Linked DNA regions of Homo sapiens: regions 1, 3 and 4 are each linked to region 2. Evidence: promoter capture Hi-C in 16 types of primary human blood cells and fetal thymus (Javierre and others, 2016). All regions are on one chromosome and are shown on one strand. The core of a region is centred on a gene start or on the middle of the fragment in contact, and the rest is flanking DNA. Distances in the headings are between cores, read along the strand shown. Region 1 overlaps GPR137C (G protein-coupled receptor 137C). Region 2 holds the start of CDKN3 (cyclin dependent kinase inhibitor 3). Region 3 holds the start of PELI2 (pellino E3 ubiquitin protein ligase family member 2). Region 4 overlaps LOC105370502 (a long non-coding RNA gene).

Region 1 (3,706 bases), core at 1-2,500, 1.8 Mb before region 2:
CCTTCGACGGCGGCTCCGAGTCCAGCCCCTTCCTTCCCGCGCTCGCTCGCCCGGCCCCCAGCCCCCTCATGAGGGTGTCCGTGCCGGGTCCGGCGGCCGCTGCCGCCCCCGCAGCCGGCCGCGAGCCCTCCACGCCCGGCGGGGGCAGCGGAGGCGGAGGCGCCGTCGCTGCAGCCTCAGGCGCCGCGGTGCCGGGCTCCGTGCAGTTGGCGCTGAGCGTCCTGCACGCCCTGCTCTACGCCGCGCTGTTCGCCTTTGCCTACCTGCAGCTGTGGCGGCTGCTCCTGTACCGCGAGCGGCGGCTGAGTTACCAGAGCCTCTGCCTCTTCCTCTGTCTCCTGTGGGCAGCGCTCAGGACCACCCTCTTCTCCGCCGCCTTCTCGCTCAGCGGCTCCCTGCCCTTGCTCCGGCCGCCCGCTCACCTGCACTTCTTCCCCCACTGGCTGCTCTACTGCTTCCCCTCCTGTCTCCAGTTCTCCACGCTCTGTCTCCTCAACCTCTACCTGGCGGAGGTAAGGCGGGAGGGCCGGCATGCGGGGCCCGGGCGGGTGCGCGGGGCCGCCGGGATCAACTCCCGCTGAGGACCAGCGGGGGCGGGGGGTGGGCAGCGAGAGGCGGACTGGAAACCAGCCTGGGGAAACTGAGGCACACCTGGAGTGTGAGCCAGTGTTTTCGCCTTAAACTTAAGTGGCTGATTGGCTTGATTACTGAGGGGTTCGGGCTAGGGGGTGAGTGAGTGAGTGTGTGTGTCTGACAACTTAAAACAGCAACGGAACGAACCCTTTGTTCGGTGTTCTGGCCCTCCGAGGTAAGGCGTTGGTGGCACCAACAAAGTGGCATCGCAAGAAGTAGCAGCCCCGGTGGCTCTGCCGAAGCCGGACTGTGTTGAGGGAGGTTGGATGCTGAGGTAGCAGCAGCTCTGCTGAAGCTGGACTGCTGCCAGCCATTACGTCACCAGGCAGAGCTGTTCCTCTGCTATTGTTGCTGCGTTTCTTTTATTAGAAGCTTATATTCCCTCCTGCATCTCCTTTCCTGTGGCTCGATAAGCCTCACATAAATTTCGTTCGATAGTTCCCCAGCAGGGTTGATGATCAATAACCAATGCTGAGGATCAGGATAAGGACCTCCATAAAGCCCTTAATGTTTGCCCCAGTTGCTTCGTGCTTTAGCGGTTTATCCTACCTCCTATTAGCATAGTCTTTTTTGGAGCTAATTAAGAGAAAAAAATACTAGCTTAACCTGTGCCTATTGCAGAAACAAAACCACCAAACTGTTTTTGCAATAACTTGCTTAATATCTGGAACCTAATCACACCCCCTTTCTCTTTTATGGGGAATTGCTGGTTGGATTGCATTGTTCTGCAGCGCTTAGGTATTTGACCCATTTCAAACAGGTTTGGGAGTGTAAGGTTGTCAATCATGTGTGTCAGCTTGTGGTATTTAAGCCATAATATTTTAAGACTTTCCCCCAAAAAAGTCCTCCTTCCCACCAAAAGAAAAGCTTGAGGAGGGGAGGAAGCAAGGTGACATCATATGCTTAATACAGACTAATATAGAATAATATTGGCCTATGCAGCTAATCCTCTCAAAGGCTTTTTTGGAGGTGATGGAATTAATGTAGTTCCAAGCAAAAGTAAAAAAAAAAAAAATGACGTATATTAAGTGTTTATATTTCCTGCATAAACCAACTCTTTTCTCCTTTAATAGGAAGTAGAATGCATAATTTTATAATCAGTCATAATGTCAGCTATTTAGCACACTAAAAACAATAGTTGAAAACAACAAAACTAATTTAACTTTTATTATTTTCCTTCTCCATCCTTTGAAAGTCCAAACAATACAATGACAAAAACGCAAACCAGTAAGCGGAAATAAGAAGCATAGGTTATCACAAATCAAATGATGCCATAGTCGTGTCACTTATTTGAGGGTGTTCTAATCTAGTTGTCGTTTAAGCTGTTATAACACTTCTACCCTTTATACTTAAACTGATACATTGTAATCTTCCTGCCACCATTTCAGATAGTGCGTTAGTGACTTCTCAACGCTGAAGCTTTTACTCCAGGTTCAGATGTTTACCTGAAAGTGACTAGCGATTTTTATGCCAGGGGCATCAGATGACTTGTTTTTTCCCTATATATTTTGATTTACAAAATAATATGAATGATTCACTGTAAAATAGTTGGTAGGCATTTCATAAAGTGGGTAAACACTCTTTTTACTTCTTGAGGTATAACATATACAATAAAGTCCACAATCTTAAATGCACACCTAGATGAAATTTTATATCTGTATACACCCATGTTACCACCACCCAGATTAAGATATAAAGCATTTTCCGTGTCCCAGAAGTTTCCCTTTTTACCCTCTCCCAGTCAGTAGCTCCCCCAGGTAAGCACAAAGTGGGTAAACACTATCCAAAAAAGGAGATATATTTAAGCTCAAAATTCTGAAGGTATGCTTATATAGCATAGAATACACGGAGTATCTAGATTGGGTCTTCAGACTTTGAGCTAATATTCCAAGCTAGTGAGGAAGAATTTAAAATCTGAAAGTCTTCCTGTTAAATGTTTGTGTAATATGCTTTTTTAAAAACGATAAAACTCTATTAACCTGAAAAATACAATTTGGAAAGAAGCTGGGATAAAGCTTTTTTCCTTTGTAATGCCTGCTAAAAAGAGTGTGAGTTGTTTGTCTATCCTTTCTTTTTATAATGAAATTAACAATTTTAGGACACAGTTGTACTTAAGAGAACAAATTGTCAATTTTTTGAAAGCCTGTTTGAAAGGAGATATCTTAACCAGAAATCATTTCTCTTTTCATTAGAGAAAATCTCCAGGAACCTGTATTTAAGAGAGTATTTTAGTTCAAATTTTTATGTCAGTTCCAGATAACTGCAAGTATACTTCCCATTGATCATTCTGAATTAATGAAGTTTTTCCTAGTGAGTTCTTCATATTATAGCAAAGTGGTAGGGAAAGCCTATGTGGTGATAAATATAAGACTTAACTGATGTTTAATTTTTTTAACCAAAAGCCCCTATAACTTTTTTGAATAGTCGTGTGTCTTGATTACCAACTCACTCTGTCTTTGCTGTATGCCGTATTAAATACCAATTCCATATTACTTTTCACTTGTTTAAAGCATTTGTTTTTTTCTGATTCTCACTAAGAGTAGCTTTAAGGACTTAGTTATAAAGAATCGTGGATCAGTATAAAAAGTAAAACAAACTCTACTACTTTGAATACATTTTGGTGGATATTCTAAAACTCATGTTTTTGAAAAGTTAAGAAATGCCTCAACCCCTTTTTTCTTTTTTTTTTTTTCTTGGTGTCTACACTTGAATGGAATTGAGATGAGGGAAAGTAGCCCTTTCTTAAACAGTTAAGCTTCTCAGTGTCTCATACTTAACCTCCTGGAAGCCTATAGTTGAGAGAGAGGGGGAAAAAAAAAAGAAAAGCCACCTTGTACACTAATCTAAAAACACATTTTGAACTTCTGGCAGGATCAGTAGGACAAGAGCTTTTCCAGAGAAGGGTTCACACTCCTGGAGTTTTACCGGAGAAGACTTCAATATTTGAAACAGACTATCTGATAAAACTGATTCTATCTACCATTAGAACATATTGAAGGACTTAAAAGGAGAATTGACAGCATCACACAATATATCCATGTAAGAAACCTGCACATGAACCTCCTGAATCTAA
Region 2 (3,305 bases), core at 258-2,757:
AAGGCTGACCCTGCCCTGTGCAAGGGGTAATTCTGCCAGTAGACAGCCTTCAGACTTTACATGCAATATTGGCTCTTCTTTGTTCTACAACAGCTTTTGGACTCGAAGTACAGCCTTTCCTGAGTCTCCAGCGCACTGGCCTCCCCCCATCAGATTTTGGACTCTCCAAGCTTCCACAAGCACAGGAGCCAATTCCTTAAAATAAATCTGTTTCTATATCCATATATACACATCCTATTCATTCTTTATCTCTGGGCAACCATGACTAGCTAATACAGTCTCTAAATCAAACTGTGGTACCTTCTTTACTAAGGAATTCCTTCTAATAGCTCTATACCCATTGGCTTTCACAACATGAATCAGGGGTTGAAATTTCTGCATATTTTTCTCAGATCTGCTCCAGGCGACTTCCTTTCCCATGGCTAGTTAAATGGGGACTGGAGAAGGCGGAGAAATACTCACATTTTTAAAAGATTACAGCTAATTATGTAGACACACTGGCCCTTAGACCTATCTTACCTGGCATTTTATAATTTCCCTTTCACACAATATAATTTAATTCATATTTGGGGGACAGGAATATTGATCTACACTGTAACTTGTCTAGTTTCTGGAACGATAAACTAAAACTTCAAGCATATAAAATATGTTTATACTCTAAATTTTTAGTTTTTTCCCTAGTATTTGTATGTCTAGATATAATTACAAAGTCTATGTGATGTTTTTCATGTGACGATCCAATACAGTGCTTCCCTGAGCCCTTAAAAAATAAAAAATAAAAATACAACTTAAAGAAACAAAAACTCCCTACCGTAGCCGCTACAAGGGAGGCTAAGGCGGGAGGATTGCTTGAGGACAGGAGTTCGAGGCCAGCCTGGGCAACATAGTAAGACTTCCGTCACAAACACAAAAACTCCCAACCCGGGTTCGAGACCAGCCTGACCAACATGGAGAAACCCCGTCTCTACAAAAAATACAAAAATTAGTCAGGCTTGGTGGCACATCCTTGTAATCCCAGCTACTCGGGAGGGTGAGGCGGAGACTCGCTTGAATCCGGGAGGCGGAGGTGGCGGTGAGCCGAGATCGCGCCATTGCACTCCAGCCTGGGCAACAAGAGCGAACTCCGTCTCAAGAAAAAAAAAAAAATCACCTCCCAACCGTATGGACCACGCTGACATCCTGCCATCAAGAAGCAAAGCTTTCCAGCGTCCCCCAAGCGCTAGGGCCGCCTTCTGACTCTTCCGCCCCGCCTCCGCCCCCTGCACTCTCCCAACTGGCGGGAGGAGGGCGCCCTCCCAGCCAATCAACGTCCCACAGGGCCCGCCTCCCGCGCGTCTTTCAAAGGTCTTCTAGGAACCAGTCAGCGATTAGAGGCCGAGTCTTCGGCCACCCAAAGGCGGAGTAAGAAACCAGAAGCGGATCTGATTGGTTGCTGGAAGACGCCGCGCCCACCTCACAGAAGGACGAACCAGTGAGCTAAGCTGCGGGGCGCGGGCTCGGCCGGGGCACCGGTGAGTCGCCGGCGCTGCAGAGGGAGGCGGCACTGGTCTCGACGTGGGGCGGCCAGCGATGAAGCCGGTGAGTCGGACGTGCTGGGGTTTGGAGGAGCGAGGCGGCAGGGACGCAAGCGGTCCCGGGGACCCGATCCTGGGCCGGAGGGCAGCCCTAGCCTGGTAGCAGTGCGACTGGCGCCGTAACCGTTCTGCGGGTCGGGGAGGTGACTCGCACGGGCCCAGCACGGGCACGAGAGACGAAGGAGCAGGGTCGGTGGCCGACGAAGGAAAGACGGACATTCGCTGTGCACCTGCTGTGGGCTGTCACCTGTCCCCTGCGGGGTCTCATAAGCCTCCCAGCCGCCCAGCCAAAGAGGGCCGAGCCTCGTTGTACCGAGGAAACCGAGCCGAAGAGCTTGAGTGTCAGCGATGAGTGGGCGCGATACCCCAGCCCCGAAGGGTGGCCGGGCGCTACCTGCGCCCACAGGGCCTGGGGAAACCTTGAGTACGAATGCCACGCCGCGGCTTGTGGGCGACACCACCGCTGTCACCATGCCCCAGGGCCACCTGGCAATGCTGCTCTTTTCCCGTGACGTTCAGAATCACAGGGCCTGGGGAAGCAGAAACGTCCAGCTCTGTTAGGATTAATAAACCTGGTGAATGGGCCACACAAATTTGAAATATGAATCATCAAAGTTGCTTTAAAGAAAAAACAGATGCAGGCAAGGAGCTGAAGATCCCCCACCTAACCCATATTTCCTACTGCCCGGCTTGACAACCTACTGGAAGCCTTTCCTTTGGGTGCAGTTGATTATAATACTTCAGATAGAGCCAAAGCAACAGAAATCCATAGCCTAGGGCCGGGTGGTGTCTCGCGCCTGTAATCCCAACACTTTGGGAGGCCAAGGCGGGCGGATCACTTGAGGCCAGGAGTTGGAGACAAGCCTAGCCAACACGGTGAAACCCCGTCTCTACTAAAAATACAAACATTAGCTGAGCGTGGTAGTGCACGCCTGTAGTCCCAGCTACTCGGGAGGCTGAGCCACGCAAATAGCTTGAACCCAAGAGGCAGAGGTTGCAGTGAGCGGATATCACGCCACTGCCCTCCAGCCTGGGCGACAGAGCAAAACCCTATCTCAAGATAAAAGAAAGAAAGAAAAAAAAGTCCGTAGCCTAAATTAGCCGTCCTGTGATCTTCTAGTACCAAGACCGTTGTAGAATATAGCTTCAGAGCTAGAAAGAGCATTAGGTGCTTACAATTGCTAATCCCTATGTTGCCATGTGGAGGGACATCAGCTGTCCTTCACTCCTGGCCTCTTTCTCCACCTGTCCCCATTGAGTTATCTGATCCCCGAGTTTGGAAGGAACTGAACACCAGTATCTCAACTTTTTCTTTCCTTCTTTCTTGGGATCTACCTGCCTGCCTGCAGAAGGTGCTTTCTGGTCCACTCTCTGGCACACAGGAGCCCCAGACTGTCCATGGCCACCTGTGACTGGGTGGATACATTTGTCTAATTCTGGGGTGAACAAGGGGCAAGCCCACGTGGCAACAGCTTTAAGCTGCATACTCCATTTGATATACAATAATAAAACTCCATTTCTTTATCTTTCAATTGGTTTCAACTAGGGAGTGAGAAAAGGGTATGGGTTTTGTTCTGTTTTGTTTTTGTTTTTCTTTTTCTTTTGATTCCTTAAAATTTCAACAAGGAGTGTAGAAGTCTTCCATGTCAAAATGCTGCAGGATTAAGTTCCAACTGCTTAGATCAGCATACGAAGTCTATCTCAATCTCTCTAGTCTAGTGATTCATAAAG
Region 3 (3,550 bases), core at 353-2,852, 1.7 Mb after region 2:
TACAATCTATGTGGTAAGTAGATGCACAGAGTACATGAAGACAACATTAATCCAGCAGAAATTTGAAAGAAATTTACATCAACACTGGGGAGGAGACATGATTTATCCCTTTAGTGAAGGAGTGCTGGTTAAAACTGTAACAGATTTTTTATTACATATAAAAAATATAGAGAATACGTAATATATGCAGAATAACTAATATTCATTTGAAATACAGAATTTCTATAGTTAGCTGAAATAAGTTAACTGTTTAATAAAGTTTATTTTTGGCTTACCAGTGGTGTGGCTTTAGTTACTTTGGAATAATTTATTTCTAAAACCTCAATTAAAAAAATCAGTTCCTAACTGAAGTAAAATTATCAGAAACATCATGTCACTACCGTAATAACCTGTCAGAGAATGTTACACAAGGGGTGCAGCACAGCGGAATGGAAGGTTACAGATGCAATTATTATTTTTTCTAGCCCTTTGCTTCGGGTCATAGCCAACCAGTCACTATACACAGGGTAGCTTCTGCAGTATTTATTTCTTTAAATATTTAACAGTGTTGAGAGGCAATGACTCGCAATAATATGTAGAGTTTCTAGCACATTATGAGTGCTTAATAAATGTTAGAACAATAAAATCCTGTATGATGAAAAACAGCAGTCAGTAAAACTATACAGTCTACGATATTTTAAAGCCATAGCAATAACTAGTTTAAAAAGAATAGAAAGCAAACAGTGCATTGATTAAATCACGGTCATAAAGGAACATTTACGTTCACTAAAAAGTCCACCCAGGTAATTTCCCCTTGTATGTATTAGGGGATGGAAAGAAGGCACAGGAAAAGTGGATAAAGTATGGATTAAAAAACAACTCTTCCCCCATCCCCCCGCCACCCCCCAAAAGCCAGGTGGAGCTCTATTGACCACAAGCCGGGGTAGCTACATCCAGTGCAACGGTGGGGTGCTCCAAGCGCCTTCGAAACGTCCTCTACGCCAGCACCAACTGGCAAAACCTTCTAATTTTCTAGACGCCTTTCTGCTTGGTTTTGGAAGGGGAGGCACCCAAGTGGGTGTGTGCGACACCTCTAGTTGTAAGCCGGGACACAGTGACGTCGAGAGAGCGCTATTCTACTCGGAGAGGAAGTTAATCCCATCGAACTCCAGCCAGGAAAACGTGGGCTTGGGAACCGCGGCCGCTCGTTTCCAGGATCTCCCGCGGGCCTTCGCGGCTGAAGAACCAGGCGGCGAGGGCTGAGGACCCCGCGCTCTAAGTTTGGGGAAGGAAGTGAGGAAAAAAAACAGAGCTGCTCCTTTAAGAACTTCCTTTCCCTTTTACTCTATGTTTACATAACACAGGGGCCGAGCCTCCGCCGGGCCGAGGGGGGCGGGGAGTGGGCGCGGACGGCCCCACGCGCCGGGGGAGGGGGCGCCCCGCGGGCCGGGGGCGGGCGCCTGGCTCTGCGTGGGGCGGGGCGGCTCCCACCTGCCCGCGCGCTGGCCCCCGCCTCCCCCGCGCGGCCCCAGCCTCTCGTGCGCCCGCTCCCTCCTCCTTCCCTCCCTCCCGCGGGGCTTCGGCGGCGGCGCTCAGCGCAGGCAGGTCCCCCTGCTGCCGGGTCCCATTTGTTGCCGGCTCTGACTCGGGGCGGCCGCGGCGCGCGGAGCTCCGGGGAGTCAGGCGGAGCAGCCGCGCAGCCACGACGGAGCAGCAGCGGGACTGGCCGCCCCGCGCCCCCTTCGCCGCCGTGCCCTTCCCCGGCGCGCTCACCCCGTTCTCGGGATGGGATTGTAGCGGCGGCGCGGACTCGGCGGGGATCGCGGCGGAGGCGGCGGCGTCGGCGGCGGCGTCGGCGGCCGAGCGGGGCTCCATGTTTTCCCCTGGCCAGGAGGAACACTGCGCCCCCAATAAGGAGCCAGTGAAATACGGGGAGCTGGTGGTGCTCGGGTGAGTCCTGGGGTCCCTGGTCCCGGGCAGCGGCGCGGGCGGGGAGCGCCCGCATCCTGGAGCGGGGCTGGCGGGGTGGCTCGGTGCTCTTTGGGGACCGCCGGGGCGCTCGGGGCGGCAGGAGAGGCTCTCAGGGCCCGGACGGCGGCGCGGGGGCGGGATGCGCCCCATCGGCGCGCGCTCGGGGTGCTGCGGCGGACGCCGGGCTGCGCTGTCCGCGCGGAGGACGCGGCGGAGGAAGTGGCCAGAACTCGGGCGACCCAGCGGGGGCAGCGCCGGGCACCGGGTCCGCGGCCGTATCGTGGGGGCGGGGGCAGGGGCTCCACTTCCCGCGCGCCGCGTCCGGGCCGGGGAGGGCGGGCAGGGACTCCATGTGAGGCGCCGCGGTCGCGGGCGCTTCGCGGGGTCGCTTCCCGAAGCTGAGAGGCCGGCCGGCGCGGAGCCCCGTCTTCCCACCTCCCTCGCGGACCGTGGTACCCGCGCCCCCGAACTCCGAGCGCGGCGCCGTGAGCTTGGGCCGCCGCGGGCTGTGGGATCCCCGGCTGCGCTTTGCAAATTGTTCCGATGACCGCCGCGGGCCGCCGCAGCCCGAGAGCAGTGAACTGTGTGTGACCCGGGCCGGCCGGCCCTCCGCTTCTCCCCGCTTGGAGTGCTCTGGAGGGGAGGGACAGGATGCGGCTGCTCGGGGCCTGGCACCGGGGCGCGGGCCGTATCCCCCCGGTCCCGGCCTCGCTGATGCCCTCCCGGCTGCGGGGAGCTCGCCAGCCTCGCCCGCCTCGGCTCCCTCTCTGCTGGTGAAAGCCGCATCTTGAAGATAGTAATTATGTACAATCGTTAAACGGCAGCAATTAGAGACTTCATCTACTTCCTGAGTTTCCTTGTGACATTTCTATTGTTTACCCTTAATAAGCCAGGAGAGAGGCTTTGCGGGCTTAAAACTGGATATAGTGGGCAGTGAAAGGGGAGGGGGAAGGGGGAAGTGCAGGAAACTGGGGGGAAGGAACAACTTGGGTTTAGTGTTGAAGAAAGGATTATTTTTTCCTTTGGATGTGTCGCTCTGGGAACCCGCGCTTTTGTCCTTCTGCGTTGAAAGACCTGTATTCAGAACATCCTCGGCGCTGATAGGTAGGCTTAGCACACATATGAGGAGTCATGGCTGTGGGAAGACTCAGGGAACTTTGCAAAACGTGTTTTGATAAGTGAGTGCCTTGAAGTAAGTGCTGACTTAAAAATAATTTAAAGAGAGGAGTTTTTGAGGGAAGCTTCCAGACACCGCACAACTCAAAGCTTCCCAGTCTTCCTGACTTTGTTGCTAGTGCATTAAGTGGGGGTGGTATTGGAAATCTCATTACCTATTTTGAAGCTGTTTGCAGATAAGTGTTTTTCTCACCTACATCTTAATTGCACTTCAAAGACAAATATCAGGGTTCACAGGAAGGCGGGAGGAATGACAGGAGAAAAGCCGCAGTTTAGTCTGTCTTATGTAACTTCAGCCCAACCTAATCTTGTGGAGTTTGGTTTTGTTTGTGTGGCTGGCTTCAGTGTGTTTAACACTGTGAACTTGACGCGGAAGATTAACGTATGCCAGAACTTTATTTCATTATTTCCTTTTGAGGAAATC
Region 4 (3,843 bases), core at 581-3,080, 1.2 Mb before region 2:
TAGTACTGTACGAGATATTTTAATTCACATTTTGGCAAGAGGAGATTCCAGCATCTGCTGATTGAAACCCAGGATTCAGGGACCTGAAATGGATTATGTAGCCCGTTTCTAGTACAATGTTAAAACAGATCACTCCAAGTCTAGAAAGTTTTGTATTATCTGGGCTGCTTTTTTAAACACCAAGATCAAAGTTAACCCTATAAACATTCCTTACATTATGGCACAGATGTCTTTGTGAAGAGTTGGTAGAAATTGAGTAGAAGACTGGATTATATTTTATAGGAACTCTGGTGACTTACTTATAAGTTAAAGGTATGCTATTAAGATCTTTATTTTGTTTGAAAGAACACTCTCTAATATATCTTCTGTGTAGCTGTGGATTTTTATTTGATAATTTTTCTTAAAATAGATTTTTTTAAAGTCACCTGACTCTGCTTCTTTAAGACAGACTATAAAAACAACGGAAACCGGGCACGGTGGTTCATGCCTGTAATCCCAGCATTTTGGGAGGCTGGGGTGGGTGGATCACCTCAGGTCAGGAGTTCGAGACCAGCCTGGCCAACATGGTGAAAACCCGTCTCTACTAAAAATACAAAAATTAGCTGGGTGTGGTGGCGGGTGCCTGTAATCCCAGCTACTTTCAGGAGGCTGAGGCAGGAGAATTGTTTGAACTTGGGAGGCGGAGGCTGCAGTGAGCCGAGTTCGCGCCATTGCACTCCAGTCTGGGCAACGAGCGAAATTCTGTCTCAAAACAAACAAACAACAAAAAACAATGGAGCACTCTGGAAGTCAGCTTTTTAGGACCACATGCTGTGACATCTGACACTTGGCATCCTTAATGTTGAGGGCACTTTCTTTGGGAGGTACATTGGCCTATTTCTAAGAAAAATATATATCATAATTATTGTATAAAACAGTTACTGATCTTTTTTTTTTAAAGATGGTAGTAAGTTGAGAAAATTCAAGTAAACATTAAGTAAACTTTAAATATTAAGTAAAGCTTTATTTTAAAAGCTGTTAGAAGTTTCTTTTCTGGCTGTTTAGATAATGCTGGGTAAAGACATTATTTTACAATAAGTAAGTGATTTGAAGAGAATAAAATGATATATTTGGTATAATCAACATTAATGCAATCATAAATAATAGAAAACTCTCATGTTTGGAACACATAGTTTAGATTTTAAGGTAATTTGAATATATCATGTGTGATTACTTAGAGATCAACTATTCTCAGCCCTGGCTGTGCATTAGAATTACTGAGGAACATTTTAAAAATACTGATGTCTGGGTCTCACACTCGGAGATTCTGATTTAATTTGGGAAGTGGATCAGACTCTATATTCTCAGAGATCCATGGGGAAATTCTAATGTATAGTCAAAGCTGGGAACCACCAGTATAAAACCTTGCAACTTAGAGTGTGGGCCATAGACAGTGTTAGCCTCACCTACAGCTTATTAAAAATACAAACTCTCAGGCCCCACCTTAGACTTTCTGAATCAAAGTCTGCATTTTAAGGTGAGGTAAGGTAGCTGACACCTGTAATCCCAGAACTTTGGGAGGCTGAGGTGGGCAGATTGCTTGAGGTCAGGAGTTCGAGAGCAGCCTGGCCAACATGGTGAAACCCCGACTCTACTAAAAAAAAATACAAAAATTAGCCAGGCGTGGTGGCGGGTGCCTGTAATCCCAGCTACTCAGTAGGCTAAGGCAGGAGAATTGCTTGAGCCTGGGAGCAGAGGTTGCAGAGAGCTGAGATTGTACCACTGCACTCCAGCCTGGGTGAGAGTGAGACTCCGTTTCAAAAAACAAACAAACAAGCAAGTCTGTATTGTAACTAGGTTGCAGATTCATTTGCAACATGTTTTTCATAGCACTTTGACTTTAAAAGTGCTTTCATAGTCATTTTTCTGTTCATTTGTGTATTTTGTGTGTGTGTAGGGGGGGTCCATTTATTAAGTATCTGGTGGGAGTGGACACTGTTGTAGATACTGAGAAACATAAAAGTAGGAATAAGATTTGGGCCTCCCTTTCAAGTAAGTTGCAAAGGAGTGGGGTGGAGGTGGGGTAGAAACAGATCTGGTGAGCAGATTGGGACCAGAGATGTAAAACAGCTGTGCTATGGAGCTATTGATAGCCTTTTGGGAGGAGAAGGAACAGGGGATACCCCTCCCTTCTCTACCCCATCTTCACTCAGGGAGTGGGATTTGAGCTGAGTTTTTCAAATAGAAGTAGGCATAGGACTGGTGGTTCCTAAAATGTGATTCCTGGCCAGCAGCATCTGCATCCCCTGAGAACATGTTAGAAATGCCATTTGTTGGGCCCTTTCCAGACTTAATGAATTACAAACTGAGGGTAGGGACCAGCCATCTGTTTTGTATTTTTTTTTTAACATGCCCACCATGGGGGGGAGGGTGGGGGGGGATTATGATACACATCACCCAAGTTTGAGAACACTGGATGCAAGCATTTTCCATACAGAGAAGAGAGGAAGGAGCATTGCACACCATTGAAAAAGTATCCCCCAAATCAGAGGAAAGGTCATTTGTAGCATTCTGTGAAGTTTGTCATGGCTTGAACTTAAAGTAAGTTGAACATAGTAAGCTGACTATACTAGGAATTTCCCCCAAATTTTGCTCAGATCCATGTATTTTTATTGTTCCGGAAAGCTTAATCTTTCCCTTTTAGGTCATTGGATCATTAATTACATTTAAAGAAAAAGCTTTGTGTTTGGTTGTATTTATTTATTTTTCTGAAAATTAAATTATGAAGTTGGCTGAACACTTTTTTTTATAATTGGAATGTTATAACTAGAAGATTTCTGTAGAAATGCATGGGAAGACTGAAGCATAGGGACATCCCTATTTGCCTTTAAATAAGCCTAGTTTAAATGGTCTTTCTTGGAGTGTAGCTGAATTTACATTGTCTGTGATCTTCTGTGATAGAGTGAATCCATATGAACCAAAACCTCCAGGTCCAAACAACTTTAATAATGTTAGTTTTTCCCATTTATATATTTTCTTGTCATAATAACCAGCATAGAGCAAACATTTTTTACTTTCCTTTTTCTCCTTCTCAAGTTGAACTGCTAATTGGCACCTTGGAGGCCAACGGGGGTCACCGAAGGGAGGAAAAGGGCTGGATAATGAATCAGGAAATAGGGTTCAAAGGGAATTCCCATTCCAGTGCTGGAAATAACCATAGAGATCACACAATCCAGCCTTTTCACATCAGAGGCCTCTGAGAGCTTAAATGAGTTGCCTAGGGTCACATTGTAATGTAGGAGCTGGAAACAGAAACCATGTTTCCCAACTCCTTGCTGAGTGTTCTTTCTACTGCTTCATAGATAGAGGTAGACTGTATCCTCATGGGGAAACACACACACTATGTGGGTGTTGCTGTAGAACATAATGATTGATTTTTCCCTTTGCCATGTGTAAGGGGCTAGTAATAGACCAGATCTCATCCAATTTGATAGCTTTAACTATATGTAAGGTACATGGATGTTCTTTGGTCAAGGTTAGGCCAAGGCAGACATCCAGGCCTGCATGATTCAGTGGGTTTAGGGTGCAGGCTCATACTCCATTTGTTATCACCTGTTTGTGTAAGTTCATTCTTGGCTTGGAGCTGCTGTTGTCTTTAAAAGGTATAACTGCCCGGCTGACAGTATTGCATGGGGCTTGGCTCTTAGGCATGGCTCAGCATGGCTCTTGTACTGGTGCCCAGAGAAACAGAGAGAGAACCAGAGCTGTCTTTCTTGTGGATGGACAGAGGGGAGCCAGGTCATGGCTTGGCTTGTCTCTCGTGCCCAGGGAAACAGAGAAAGAGTTAAGCTGCTGACCCTGAAA

The links. The method cuts DNA at HindIII sites, captures the fragments that hold promoters and counts their contacts. A CHiCAGO score of 5 or more calls a contact.
Region 1: a contact is called between a fragment that was not itself captured here and the fragment with the promoter of CDKN3 in region 2, in 1 of 17 cell types (fetal thymus). The highest score is 7.8, in fetal thymus.
Region 3: the fragment with the promoter of PELI2 here is called in contact with the fragment with the promoter of CDKN3 in region 2 in 2 of 17 cell types (total CD8 T cells and non-activated CD4 T cells); the score reaches 6.1 in total CD8 T cells.
Region 4: a contact is called between a fragment that was not itself captured here and the fragment with the promoter of CDKN3 in region 2, in 1 of 17 cell types (M1 macrophages). The highest score is 5.9, in M1 macrophages.

What each region holds. Positions count from the first base shown.
Region 1 is chr14:52,553,080-52,556,785 of GRCh38, forward strand. GPR137C (G protein-coupled receptor 137C) reads left to right here. Exons shown (of 7, transcript NM_001099652.2): 1 at 1-512. The coding sequence starts at 69. Among named protein-coding and RNA genes, the nearest start is that of GPR137C, 2.1 kb to the left of the region's middle. RefSeq lists silencers at 1-16, 27-226. The HindIII fragment of the contact is 495 bases long and covers 1,004-1,498 here.
Region 2 is chr14:54,395,500-54,398,804 of GRCh38, forward strand. CDKN3 (cyclin dependent kinase inhibitor 3) reads left to right here and starts at 1,508. Exons shown (of 8, transcript NM_005192.4): 1 at 1,508-1,578. The coding sequence starts at 1,570. The HindIII fragment of the contact is 7,211 bases long and covers 1,197-3,305 here.
Region 3 is chr14:56,116,809-56,120,358 of GRCh38, forward strand. It overlaps PELI2 (pellino E3 ubiquitin protein ligase family member 2), which reads left to right and starts at 1,603. Exons shown (of 6, transcript NM_021255.3): 1 at 1,603-1,929. The coding sequence starts at 1,853. RefSeq lists an enhancer at 991-1,230 and silencers at 1,361-1,420, 1,461-1,720, 2,011-2,080. The HindIII fragment of the contact is 3,737 bases long and covers 1-3,189 here.
Region 4 is chr14:53,210,728-53,214,570 of GRCh38, forward strand. The region is part of intron 5 of LOC105370502 (a long non-coding RNA gene); the gene reads left to right. Among named protein-coding and RNA genes, the nearest start is that of DDHD1-DT, 59 kb to the left of the region's middle. The HindIII fragment of the contact is 1,664 bases long and covers 999-2,662 here.